5 separate regions of the Homo sapiens genome follow, and all the other regions are linked to region 5. The links are contacts of gene promoters, found by promoter capture Hi-C in human tissues and cell types (Jung and others, 2019). All regions are on one chromosome and are shown on one strand. Each heading gives the region's core, a stretch centred on a gene start or on the middle of the fragment in contact. The rest is flanking DNA. Distances are from core to core; before and after follow the strand shown.

What was found. Contacts are between HindIII fragments. The study calls those that stand out against the background at their distance.
Region 1: a contact is called between a fragment that was not itself captured here and the fragment with the promoter of NDUFV2 in region 5, in 1 of the 25 tissues and cell types used here (lymphoblastoid cells).
Region 2: a contact is called between a fragment that was not itself captured here and the fragment with the promoter of NDUFV2 in region 5, in 1 of the 25 tissues and cell types used here (dorsolateral prefrontal cortex).
Region 3: a contact is called between a fragment that was not itself captured here and the fragment with the promoter of NDUFV2 in region 5, in 1 of the 25 tissues and cell types used here (dorsolateral prefrontal cortex).
Region 4: a contact is called between a fragment that was not itself captured here and the fragment with the promoter of NDUFV2 in region 5, in 1 of the 25 tissues and cell types used here (mesenchymal stem cells).

The regions. Positions count from the first base shown.
Region 1 is chr18:8,730,036-8,732,735 of GRCh38, reverse strand. The region is part of intron 3 of MTCL1 (microtubule crosslinking factor 1); the gene reads right to left. Among named protein-coding and RNA genes, the nearest start is that of GACAT2, 24 kb to the right of the region's middle. RefSeq lists an enhancer at 2,031-2,325. The HindIII fragment of the contact is 4,723 bases long and covers 1-2,700 here.
Region 2 is chr18:8,688,060-8,690,759 of GRCh38, reverse strand. It overlaps the pseudogene TOMM20P3. Among named protein-coding and RNA genes, the nearest start is that of MTCL1, 16 kb to the left of the region's middle. RefSeq lists an enhancer at 1-603. The HindIII fragment of the contact is 5,020 bases long and covers 1-2,700 here.
Region 3 is chr18:8,638,437-8,641,136 of GRCh38, reverse strand. RAB12 (RAB12, member RAS oncogene family) reads right to left here. Exons shown (of 6, transcript NM_001025300.3): 6 at 1,754-2,700. Among named protein-coding and RNA genes, the nearest start is that of RAB12-AS1, 3.4 kb to the right of the region's middle. The HindIII fragment of the contact is 3,546 bases long and covers 1-2,700 here.
Region 4 is chr18:8,789,219-8,791,918 of GRCh38, reverse strand. The region is part of intron 6 of MTCL1 (microtubule crosslinking factor 1); the gene reads right to left. Among named protein-coding and RNA genes, the nearest start is that of GACAT2, 83 kb to the right of the region's middle. RefSeq lists an enhancer at 885-1,408. The HindIII fragment of the contact is 3,706 bases long and covers 1-2,700 here.
Region 5 is chr18:9,101,239-9,104,011 of GRCh38, reverse strand. NDUFV2 (NADH:ubiquinone oxidoreductase core subunit V2) reads right to left here and starts at 1,313. Exons shown (of 8, transcript NM_021074.5): 1 at 1,215-1,313. The coding sequence starts at 1,268. RefSeq lists an enhancer at 244-953 and a silencer at 1,226-1,585. The HindIII fragment of the contact is 4,084 bases long and covers 962-2,773 here.

The DNA.
Region 1 (2,700 bases), core at 85-2,584, 370 kb after region 5:
TCTGGGGCTTATTCTCAGGTCAGAATTCAAGTGCTGCCTGATTACCTGCCCAACAGGGAGACATTCAGTTGGGCTGTGTAACTATGTATGGGTGACTCGGCGTCTTTTCAATGCGAATGATTTTTTATTACCAGGGAGAAAAAAACAACACAACTTGCTTATTTGGCTCATAATCATACCATTTCAACGTACGATGGCTCACTTGAGTCTGAGCAACACCAAGAAACAGCACTCAGGCCGTAGAGAATCCTATGGAGTATTTTCTAAGCATTTCTATTTCTCTGACTCTTGATTCTGCACTTGAAGATAAAAGTTACCTAAATTAGCCAAACACGGCAGCTCACCCCTGTAATCCCAAAACTTTGGGAAACTGAGGTGGGAGGATTGTTTGAGCTCAGGAGTTTGAGACTAGCCTGGGCAACATGATGAGACCCAGTCTCTACTAAAAAATAAATAAATAAATAAATTTAAAAAATCAAAAAAATTAGCCGGGTGTGGTGGCACACGCCTGTAGTCTCAGCTACTCGGGAGGGTGAGGCAGGAAGATCCCTTGAGCCCAAGAGGTCAAGGCTGCAGTGAGCCATGATCCCTGGGCAACAGAGCGAGACCCTGTCTCAAAAAAAATGAAGATTAAAAGAATAAAGTTACCTAAATTATATTACATCAATAACATGACTTGTAGCATATAAATTCAACAGACCCCAAGAGAATCAAATACAAATTTTGAGGCGGGACACAGTGGCTCACGCCTGTAATCCCAGCACTTTGGGAGGCTGAGACAGGTGGATCACTTGAGGTTAGGAGTTCAAGACCAGCCTGGACAACATAATGAAACCCCGTCTCTACTGAAAATACAAAAATTAGCCAGGTGTGGTGGTGCACACCTGTAATCCCAGCTACTCAGGAGACTGAGGCAGGAGAATCACTTGAACCTGGGAGGCAGAGGTTGCAGTGAGCTGAGATCACACCACTGCACTCCAGCCTGGGTGACAGGGTGGGACTCTGTCTCAAAAAAAAATTTTTTTTTTGAGAAGAGCAGTAGTTTCTATTTTTCCCATAGCACAGACAATGCTACAAATTTGATGCAGTTTACTGCCTAGTGAAAGTCTAAATTATTCAGAAATATGTGCTGTCTATATTTTAATTATTATTTTTTTTCTTGAGACGAAGTCTCGCTCTTGCCCCCCAGGCTGGAGTGCGATGACGCGATCTTGGCTCACTGCAACCTCTGCCTCCCAGGTTCAAGCGATTCTCTTGCCTCGGCCTCCTGAGTAGCTGGGATTACAGACGCCTGCCACCATGCCTGGCTAATTTTTGTATTTTTAGTACAGACGGGGTTTCACCATGTTGGCTAGGCTGGTCTTGAACTCCTGACCTCAGGTGATCTGCCCGCCTCGGCCTCCTAAAGTACTGGGATTAGAGGCATGAACCATCGTGCCCAGCCTATTTTAATTATCATTATTATTATTTTTTACTTTTTTATCTTTTTTTGAGATGGAGTCTTGCTCTGTCGCCCAGGCTGGAGTGCAGTGGCACAATCTTGGCTCACTGCAAGCTCTGACTCCCGGGTTCACGCCATTCTCCTGCCTCAGCCTCCCGAGTAGCTATGACTACAGGCGCCCGCCACCACGGCCGGCTAATTTTTTGTATTTTTAGTAGAGATGGGGTTTCACCGTGTTAGCCAGGATGGTCTTGATCTCCTGACCTCGTGATCCGCCCACCTCGGCCTCCCCAAAGTGCTGGGAAAACAGACGTGAGCCACCGCACCCAGCCAATTATTTTTAAGAAAAGCAGCAAGCACAGTGTCTGTTTCACTACAAGTCAGAGGTTCCATTCTAACGTGTAGGTAAAATGCTGAAACGCCCTGCACATTATCAGAGATTCCCATCTTCCAAGAAAGGCTGTCTTAGAGAAGGAGAGAAATAGATGGATCTTCAATCTCTCAGGAAGTCTGCAAAGTAATGTTCACACAGCATCGCTGCGTCCAAGGTAGCCATCCCAAGGGTGCCATAATCTGCCCTAAAAGGTCCCCCGGAGCCTGCAGTGCTGTGGGCGAGACTGCACAGGAAATAAAAAGAAGGCAGCTGTACAGCGCACAGGGGACAAGCCGGCGTTGTCCAAGCCCAGCGAGGAGCCTGGCTGACGTTCAGGAAGTTGATGAACAGAAGCGGCTTCGCTTATCACTAACCAAACAGGCCAATTTCATGACTCACAGTCATTGTCAAAAAACTTGACCTACAGTGGAATTACTGGCCTTTATTAACTATCCTTAGGTAATGATATAAAGAATCAGAAATTCCTCAGCAAGAGATTTTTAAATAATGTTTTGGCTCTTTCTCAAGGGAAAAATAAAGATGATAAAACCTTCACCCATGGAACAAATATTTATCCAGCGTTTCATAAGGACGGGGCTGTGTAGAGAGACACAGACATACCAAAAGGCAAAGAGGTGAGTGGGCCAAAATGCCATTGAGGGATCAAATGGGATTCGGATCTGCTGGCTGGCACGGACTCCGCACCAAGAAAGCACTTTCAGGACATATATAGCTAAGTGATCAAGGCTGGGTGGCTCTGGCAGAGATCAATGGAACAGAGCAGAGAACCCAGAAACAGACCCAAACACATGTGCCCAACTGATTTTTGACAACAATGCAAAAGTAATTCGATGGAGGAAAGGTGGCCTTTTCAACAGACGGTGCC
Region 2 (2,700 bases), core at 40-2,539, 410 kb after region 5:
AAGGCTTTATGGTGAAGGTAGCAAATGAGCCTTGTCAATGCGGTAATGGGTCCTAAGGTGGGGAAGGCAGATATTATTTTTCTCTCAGTGCTGCGGATGAAGAAACCAAGACACAAGGCAAATAAGCCACTCACCCCACACCATAACACTGTTAAGTGGCAGGGCCGGGCTTTGAACTCCGAAGTGCCTGGCGGTGCACACACTCCTGCCCCACTGGGTGCTGCCTCCTCTCATACACTCTCTACTCCCTGCGGGCACCAGGCCACCATCAGAGCTGGGGTCTTTCCGAAGAGTGAGACGGGCCGACTTTGCAGGATGCACAGAGGAAAGAGATGCCAGAGAAGTGGCTGGAAGGAAAGAGCTAAGGGTCCTCAGACAACAGTCAGACATGCTGAGATGTCTTGCTTCCTCATGGAAAGTTCCCACTAGATGTCTGCCCTGGGGTTCTCAGAGCCAGGAGCAGCTCTGGAATTTCCATTTGCAAGTGAGATGATGGTGGAGAGAAGGTTTTATGCTCATCAAGAATCGGAGGCCTTTGGGAGTGCATGGAGCCCATAGGACGAAAGAGTTCCACTCAAACGAGTTCTATACAAGTTAAAAATGGAAAAGATGAGGAAGAAATTTTTTAATTAAAACATTAAATAGGGCGGTGAGTGTGGAGGAGCACAACCCCCATGCGCTGATCCAGGAAGAGGCTGGCTTTGAGCTCCTGATTAATTAGCTGATTTTTGATCCCTCCAGAAGTTTAAATTCGGTCCTGGGGGAGTGTTCTGAGAAGACTGATGAAAGGGGGCAAGCGGTTCGATTCTTTGAGACTTTGGGAAAACAAAACCCATTAAGGCTCAAGGAAACCTGCTTGTGACATTTCAGCTGCCATTGAACAACACGACCTTGCGTGGCCCAGCGTCCCTTTGTGCTACGTGAGGAAACACGCAGTGGCCAAGCGTCAGCAGCCCAAGTACGTGCTTGGGTTGTGCTTATGTGCGGTGCGGTGAAGAAGAAGCACGGCCTGTGGCTGTCTCAGACGCTGATTTGAGTGCAGGCAGTGTGATTGGATCAAATGCTGATTTAACAAGGTGCTTTAGAAGGCCCTTAACAATAGTAATAGCATTGCAGATGCAAAAGTGATGTCATCGGGATTCATGATGTTTTTGATGGTGTGTGTGTGTGTGTGTGTGTGTGAAATTGACTTGGCTTATTAGGTCATAGATGGAAACATTTTCAGCTGCTTATCTCCCGTGGCAGTTTCTCCACATTACTGAGTGGGGAAAGACTTGCCACAATCCCCCTATTCCTGTTTGTCTGTCTTGAAGGCCAGTGGGGTCTCCCAGGAGCTATGTTCTGATCGAGACTCTGATCCAAGCAGGGAGAAGAGGGAAGGCCAGGAGCATGAGCCTGAAATTCTAACAGGAAGTGTCTTCTAGAAGGCAGAGGAACAGGCAGATGCTTAGAGATGAGAAGCCTCCTTGTCTGCACTGCTTTTCTGCTCCTTTAAATTGATATTGGGCTCCAAAGGTTCATCTTTGAACTCCCTCTCCTTCCCCTTCCCCAAAGACTTCTGAGCCATCTGTCTTGAGACTCCACCTTTGTTGAGCATCTACTGCATGCCGGGTACAGCCAGCACCCATCCCTGTCATTGTGCCCCTTCCTTAGCCCCTCAGATCTACCCCACACACCCACCCAAGCTCTCCTAAGTCCTCAGTGATGACCAACTTCCAATTTGCTGTCCTTGCATGTGTGGCTGGCGTCACCGCACAGCTTGGGAGGGAGAAGCCCCAACCGGGGCCTTTGCCGTAGGAACCAGCACATTCCCACGTTTCTCCTGCACGAATAACCACAGCGTGTGCAGATTTCAGGATAAGTCTCACAGCAGCACTTCCAGTTGCTGAGAAATTTCTTGAATAAAGGAGAAATATATGTATTTATTTTTGCTGTGCAAAAGTATCAATGTTTCCCTCCAAATATTCAACCTGAGTGTTTACTTTTATAATTTTTAAATTTAAGGACAGAATATACCACATCAGTTGCTGTTAAGTACGCTGCAAATCTCAAATGAGGGGGGAAATAGAAAAAAGACACATCCATGTTTTCACTCCTGATTTCACAATGTTCATATGACCTTTGTTGCTGTCAGACAGCTCGTGAATTCAGTGAAATATAAACATCTTGATAATGGTTAATTTGGTCGGGAACTAACTAGAAGGCCAACTTGAATGTACAAAATGCCCATTTTTTTTTTCCAATTTAAGAAATGCAGCCTTTTATGTACAGTAATAATAGGAACTAAGCAGCAGATGTTCATTGCTGATTTAGGAATTGAGACCCTGACGCCACAGTCTACAAAAGACGCTGGGCCAGAACAGTGCCGTCATAGCCAGGGTACGCAGGGCCCTTTTCATTGGGTACTGCATTTACTTAGGCCACAAGAGACGGAGTGACCCTACCTTCAAGAACAGGCTGTGAGAACAAAGAAAGACACAGAAGCTTGCCAAGGAGAGAGCTGAGCTTTGCAAGTGACCTGACCTTAAAGTTGCTGAAGCTGTTCAGAAATCTTCTTTGAAGAAATACAGCTCAGAGAAGAGTTACTAGCTCAAGGTGAGTGTGAGAAGGACATGGAGCATCTGATGACAGGGAGTGCTGGGTGTGGACAGTTACTGCGAGTGTCCAGTGGTCCAATGCTCCTGAGTAAACTCCCAACAA
Region 3 (2,700 bases), core at 76-2,575, 460 kb after region 5:
ATTAGCTGGGTGTGGTGGCGTGCACCTGTAATCCCAGCTACTCGGGAGGCTGAGGCAGGAGAATTGCTTGAACCTGGGAGGTGGAGGTTGCACTGAGCTGAGATCACGCCATTGCACTCCAGTCTGGGCAACAAGAGCAAAACTCAACAACGACAACAAAAATTAAACTCAAGAGCTATAAACCACACTGCCTTCTTGCAAAGTCCAACTGTAACCCCCAAACTATCCTACTAAACAAGGATAGCACTTTTGTTAATACTACAGTTGACAGACTGAAAATGCAGAAACTAAGATTGAGTTGTAAACATAAAATAGACCACAGATTGCTGAATGAGCTACAAATGCCCATGCCAAACACCACCGTTTTTTTTGTTGAACTCATCTTTGAGGATCTGTTTCTTGAGATCACTCCTGGTTCCAGGTCCTCTATCAGTCAGGAAGACAGACACCAATGCGGGATATCTAAACAGAAGGATTTAATACAGGGGACTACATGGTTGTTCAAATGCTAAACCAATGAAGTGAAGGAAGCAGCTACCAACCCTAGGGCCCTGGGGGCAAAAAGGGGAGGGCACTGCCACAACTCAGGAGCTCAGAGGAAGGACCCCTGCAAGACTGGGTCCAAGCTTCTGAGGAGGGGAGTGCAGACTCGGAGGAGCAGGACCCTGGGGGGCAGAGGGACTGCTGAGGGTACAGTCCAGCAGGGGCTGGAATGACCCAGCTGGCAGGACACTGAGAAGCCCAGATGCCACTGGTACCTCTGACAGGGCACAGTGAGGTTGGAGCCAGGGGTCCCGCAGGAAGCTGGAGGCTAGAGCTGGTGGTCTGTTGTTGCTCCAGGGAGGCTGATGGGAACGGAAAAATGGCAAGCAAGCCCCTTCTTCCCTCCTGCCAACTTCTAGCTCTCCATCAGCAGATTTTAACAGGAAGAGCAAGAGGGTTTGGCAAATATAGTTGGGAGTCCCAACCCCAGCATCACAGAGCAGAACACAGAAGGGCAGGGTGGGAGGTGAGGGTAGGTAAATCACCAGCAGTCGTAATCGACTGTGGCTGATAAAGGCATATACACGAACTAAAAATCTTTTCTGGAGGACACGACAATCCAGTTTGCTACAGCTCAGTGGCACTAAAGAAGTCCCTGCACACTGCTGTGCTGCCATCGCCACCGTCCATCTTCCCCAGCTGAAACTCTGCACCCAGAAACAATGCTTCATCCCCTCTCCCGCCCTCCTGGGAACCACCATTCTACGTCATCTCTATGAATCTGGGTGCTCCATATACCTCATGTAAGTGGAATCAGGCAGTATCAGTCCTTCTGGGCCTGCTTATTTCACTCAGCGTAATGTCTTCAAGATTCATCCGCGCTGCACATGTGACAGCATTTCCTTTCTTTTTAAGGATGAATATCCCATTGTTTGTAGAACACACATTTTGTTTATCCATTATTTTGCTGATGGACATTGGGGCGGTTTCCACCTTTCGGCTCTCGTGAACAATGCTGCCGTGGGCACTGGTGTACAAGTACCTGTTTGAGTCTCTGCTTTCGATCTTTTAGATATAAACCTAGAAGTCAAATTGCTGGATCATATGGTAGCTCTATGTTCAGCCCTTTGAGAAAACATCAAACTCTTTTCCCCAGTGGAGGACTATGCTTTTCCTGTCTAAACACTCAAAAGGATTAAGCTGTGGAGCTCATGGAGAATACTGTCATATATACAATTTATAATTGGATAAATAAATATGGCAACTCAACTTCATTCATAAATACAAAATTTTATTTGCACTTCATTAGTGTAGAAAGACCACAATGCTTTTCATACCACAACACTCAAGACACACCAAGTTATTCAAATACATAATTACTTAATTACCTTGACTAAACAAAACAGTGCAGTTTAATAAAAGATATACCAAAGATAGAGTTCACAAATTCATCATCAGACCAAAAAAAAAAAAAAAAAAAAAAAAAAAAAAAAAAAAAAAAAAAAAGAACACAGTCTAGGCTTAATCAGAATAAGCTTCACCGTAAAGAAGGGGGAAGTTTTATCATTACAAAGGTACAGAGTGTTTAGGCAAATACACGTATGTTCTTTGATATAGTAAAATGCATCTCTTTAAAATTCCTTTAAACAGGATTTGTTTAGGACAGCAGCGTGTTTTAAAATCTTTTTCTATAGTTTCAAAAACATTTCTTTCTTTATTGAATCTTTGTAGTTCTTAAAAGCATAAAGGTACATCCCTTAGGAAGCCATGAGAGAGATTCTGTGGCCTTAGGACCAAGTCAAATCCAACCCTCTAACTAGTAATATTCTACCATTATGTAACATTAATAAATAACCTTCCATGACGGCCATGAATGGAGCTTTGCTTCGTGGCAGAAACACTCCAATACTTCAGATGCTACCACTGGGGGAAATGTCTTGTAAATAAAGAAAAAGCACTTAAGATAGCTTTTTTTCAAAAAGTCTTTAGTTTTACAAATTTTCTTTAAAACGGTAAGCAAAGCACCACGTTCTCTCTTATCAGAATATCTTCTGTCCTCATAATATAATTAATAAGGACAATTATATTATTTATTTCAAGAAACATTATACCTTTCATTTCTCCCATTCTTCATATTAGAAGTACTAGGTTTCCCAGTGTATGTACACTAGACACTGGGGTAATGAATGAAATATAATAATTTGGAGGGAAATAGGT
Region 4 (2,700 bases), core at 29-2,528, 310 kb after region 5:
CGGAGACAGAAAATCAGACACTGGGGATTCACCAAGTTCAGCATAAAACTTTGAAAGCTAGAGATTTAAACATCTTATTTTCAAAAAACTCAGTAATTTCTGACAGCATTAAATGCTTCTTTGATTTGCTAGTTGTTTGAGACTACTATAGTCTCTTATACATATTCAGCATTGTTTGGGGTTCTCTGAAAAGATGCATTTCCCTACATGTTGAATTGACCTCAATGACTAATTTTGCATTTCCAAAAGGTCTATTATTTAGAAAATGTGTGGTCTTTTATGATGGTGACATACTCTTCTCCTGTTTGCTTGCCTTTAATAGCTGTGTAGGCACTTATCTGATAGCGTCCATCTGATAATTCTATTACCTGCAGTCTTAGGGTTGAATCCTGCTATTTGCCGTGTCTGCCAACTTGTGTCCCTGTTGGACGTTACTGGCTTGTGTGACTTCATCTCCCAGGGGCACTTATCTATGGATCTAGTATGGATTTGGGTGGAGGATGTGCCTCCAGATTGGTTTCCTGTTTGGTGGAGCTAGCAACATAACATAAATCCCTTTCTTTGGGGATTCCCGGACCAAACTGGTAACATCAATTCAAAGCCTGACCTTGGGTGAGGCCAGCTTCAGTCCTCCCACTCCTGATCCAGAGGCTCATGCTGGGGAAACAAGTATCAGTGCTGCCTCCCTGCTCCCTGCCCTGGGGCCAGCAGGCAGATGCTTCTCTTGTTCATTCATTTCCTTTCTTTCCCTGCAATGTTGGGCCCAGGCCCCATCTCCTGTTCCCTTGGAGCTGCTGAAACCCAAGGCTCCCAGTTACCAGTTCTGGCAACAATCTCCCTAATCCACCCACCCAAGGGCCACAGAGACCACTCTGGTTCTCAGTTCTTTGTTTGCTTGTTTTTTGAGACAGGGTCTCGCTCTGTCGCCCAGGCTGGAGTGCAGTGGCGTGACGTCGGCTCACTGCAACCTCCACCTCCCAGGTTCAAGCGATTCTCCTGCCTCAGCCTCCCGAGCAGCTGGGATTATAGGTACCCACCATGACACCCAGCTAATTTTTGTATTTTTAGTAGAGATAGGGTTTCACCATGTTGGTCAGGCTGGTCTCGAACTCCTGACCTCAAGTGATCTGCCTGCCTCAGCCTCCCAAAGTGCTGAGATTACAGGCGTGAGCCACCGTGCCTGGCCTTCTGGGTCTCAAATCTAAAATCAATTCCAACTCTTGAAGATTCCCCTAAATTTCCTGGGAATTCAGCGATGTATTTAAGAGGATACTTTCTATTTTATGCAGTGTTTTATTCAATATTTATTGAGCACCTCCAGTGCTAGGCATCATCTAAAGCGTGGGGGATACAGCAGTAAACACAGCGGCCACATCTGCCCTTGGGGCTTCCCTCCTCTCTCAGGTGTTCCGTGCAGGACTGTTTCCAGGTCACCTAGGCTGCTCTCCTGCCAGCTTTACTTTCCAGCTACACATTACTCTATAAACTCAAAATGTAAAAATCCTTCTTATTTAATGCATTAGGTGCTAGCCAAAAGCTTTATTAGGTGTAAAAACAGACATCCTAATCAAGCTTATTGTTTAAGAAAAGCAAAGATCTATTAGTTTAGTTTCTATACATTGCATGAACTATTTAGTTTGGTTTTAATTTTAATAAATAATATATATGTTAAGAAGCCATTTTTATCTGAAACAATATATGAAGCTCATACTTCAGTGTCATTGGATTTAAAACGTGCTCTTCTGTTTGAACCACACCTTTGAAGAGTCACAGAAAGGGAGGTCCTTGAGCCAGTTCACTGGGGAAGTCGGACTCACCTACGATGGCTCCAGTGTTGTCTCTGGAGACTGCTGCCTGCCCAACAGCAGACAGGTTTAGATCCTCCTGATTATCAGAAGTTTCATTTTCCTTTATTGTCCATTTTTGCTAATGCAATATTAAAACTCCCACGGACAACTGCCCCTAGCTGGGATGCCAACGTCACTCCAATGTTACAAAAAACAACATACAAAACGTGCTATGGCAAAAGGTTCAGCCTAGAATTACTCTACTGCCACACAACTGCATACAACCACATACATTTGGAGAAAAGTTTCACATGACACATAAATGTCTTCTAAAAAAATAAATATTTCCCTTTACCACCCAATCCCCAAAGGTTTGATTCTAAAAAAAACCCTTTTTTTGTTCACTTACCTAGGATTCTGATTATACATCAAATTCATCTTGATCTCCCTATTAAAGCAGCTTATCTAAACCACCACCACCCTCACTTGTTTCCGAGGCTGCTGAGACACTAGTCTTGACAATTGTAACCATTCTCCCCACGTCAGTGTTCCGGAACTCCCGTCCATGTCTTCCCCAATAGAGCTGCATCCCACACTGATTGACAAAGGCTAACTTCCCTACCTCCAGAGAAAGTGGCTTACAAATTACTTCCCACACTTAAGAAGATAACTTCACAATCTCAAACACAAACAGAAAAGGAAGGCTTTTCATGGCCATCACTAGAGTGCCTAGCAATGCTACTCCTCTATTAGGACAATTCCATCACCATGACCATGGCTTCATTTTCTGGAGGGTTCCATTTTGTCCTGGCCAGTTTTGCAACCACTTATTTCAAAAGCAGTACATGAGGCCAACACATGAGTGCAAATACTTGGCATAAAACCCCACGTAACTTCCTTGTGGCTGGCATTT
Region 5 (2,773 bases), core at 64-2,563:
TCTTACATGAGACTATCAATTCCAAAAGAACGGGAACTGTCTAAATCTTTTCCTTATCTGTAATATGAGGAAAAAGTAATACCAGCCTCAAAAATGAGATGTGGAATGTAGATATTTAACTCGGTGCTTGGCATACAGAAAACAGTTATCAAATGACTATCATTATTATCCACACTGTTAACTAGAGCTCAGCAGTGCATGACGTACAGTAAGACTTCAAATGTTTATTGAAAGACTGAACTCTGCAAAAAGGAATATTCCCATTTTACAACTGAAGAAACTGAGGAAGATTAACAGCACAAAGTCATAGAGCCACAAAAGGCAGTTAAGCTAACATCCAAACTCGAGTCTAACTCTAAAGCCCTGAATTCATTCTCAATGAATATACACTAGCTCCCTCTTGCTGAGAACTGACTTAACCTATTTCACTCTTAGAAAACAAACAAAACTAAGGCTTCTTTCCAGTATTACTTGTGTAACAGGCCCTGTTGTTATAATCGACATTTCTGGAAATCTGCATTTTTAGATTAACGTGAAGGAGTGTTTCAACTTCTCTGCAATTCAATTTCCTTGCCTACCATGAGATGTACTTGGATCTCAAAAAGATCATTTAATCTCTAAAATCCTGTGGTTCTTTAATTGGGTGCTGTTATTTGCGGCGCCGTTCTTTCAGAGTTAGTTTGATACCGTTTATTTAGCCAGCATTTCCGATATGCAAAGCACAACTGCAGTAAATCAAACATTGGCCACCCTTTTCCAGCCCTAATGAAGTTCTCCCTAAGCCTTCACGAAGCAAGCCAGAGCTCTCCAGTATGCTGCAACCTAAAAGCATCGAGGTCACTAGGCTTGAAACGAGAGGTGCCTCCTTCGGAGCGACGGTCTTCGAAACTGATCTGGCCAGAGCAGGCCTAGATTCTGCGCTACAGCAAAACAGCAAAAACAAACAAACATATATATATATATCACCAAGCAGCCCCTCTTTTCTGTCCTCCTCGACCAAACTAGGAGTACACTTCCCAGTATGGCAACCCTCCCTCGGGGCTTCTCACGGTGGGGCTGCAGCGGCCTCCCTAAGAGGGCTAAGGCCGCAGTGTCCTTGCCGCCGCCTGCAGGCCCGTGCAGAGCCCAGGGCTCTCCTGCGCCCAAAACTAAGGGAGACACGGAGAGCAAGAGAAGGGCGGCGGCAGCGCCGGGCTCAGCTTGAGCCTCCTTACCCAGTGGGCGGTGAGGCCAGCCGCCCGGGCCCGGAGCGCCGCGGAGAAGAACATGGCGGGCCACACTGTTCACCTTCCCCAGCCGCGCCAGGCGAGAATCCCGAGCGCGCCCAGGGCGCACAGCGTGCGCGCTCCCGACCCCAGGCCTAGGCGACCCGGACGGCACGCCGCTCCCTTCGCCGAGGGGCGGGGGCTGACGGGAGGGAGCGAGGGCGCGCGGGGGCTGCTGGGGCCCTGTGGGCGGAGACTTCCCGGGGGAGGGGCGGGGACCAGTCCGTGCTCGGAAAGGGAGGTGTCCTACGGGCCGCTGCAGGGGTCCCGGCCTTGAAAAGAAGCGTCCCGGAGCTGCACCTTGGGCTCCTGGGTAACGAAGCGCCCGCCTGGATTTATAGGGGTGAGCTTCCCTCATGGAGAGCCTTGTGAGGATTAGCCACCTCCTCTTATATTGCTGTTAGTTAAAAATAAAGTCGGGTTGCAACCCACTATAAATCTTATTCTACATGTTACGAATTCAAGACACAGAGGGCTGCTATCCAGTGTGCTAGCCATAGACACCAAATGTCTTGGTTCCCAATCTTTTGCATTAGAGATATGTGCGACATATTTAGGGGTTAAATGGTATGATGTCTGGAATTTGCTTGAGAATAGTGGGGAGCGGGAGGTGAAAAATAAAGCAAGTTGGCCGTTAAGTAAGGCCATAGAAGCTGCATGGTCGTTCTTATTTACTATTCTCGGTACTTTTGTACATATTAGATATTTTCCATAATAAAGCTGAAAAAAAAACCCACTTCCTTCTTCATGTTTGTTTGGTTATCTCTGGAAATTCCAACAAGTATTTATTCAGTAACAGCTCTAATGTGCACAGCACTATTTCCTGGTGTGGACTTCCTCTTGATTTTTTACGTCACTGCCTTCTTTTCTGGAGTGTCACGTCCTGTACCCACCCCCTTCCTTTTGCCCATTTTCTTTGCTATAATAAACTTGTGAATAATTTCTAGAACATTCACAGCAGCACAGGGATTTTAAAAATTTATCCCTCATTAGTTTAAAAACTCAGAAATATTCCATTGCAACCCCTATGAATCATATTTCGCAAATCACAGAATTCAAGACACAGAGGACTGCTGCCCAGTGAGCTAGAAATAGATACCAAATGCCTTGGTTCCCACTCCTTTGCCTTATATTTTATGTTAGTTTGCCTCTCCTAAATTAGCTTCAGTATTTCCCTTTAAAAGGAAAAGACAGTCTGGCCCTTAATGTAAATGTATTTTGTTATAAAGTTACCTAAATACTTATACACCTGGCCGGGCGCGTGGCTCACGCCTGTAATCCCAGCACTTTGGGAGGCTGAGGTGGGCAGATCACGAGGTCAGGAGATCGAGACCATCCTGGCTAATACGGTGAAACCCCGTCTCTACTGAAAATACAAGACATTAGCCGGGCATGGTGGCAGGCGCCTGTAGTCCCAGCTACTCGGGAGGCTGAGGCAGGGGAATGGCGTGAACCCGGGAGGCGGAGCTTGCAGTGAGCCGAGATCGCGCCACTGCACTCCAGCCTGG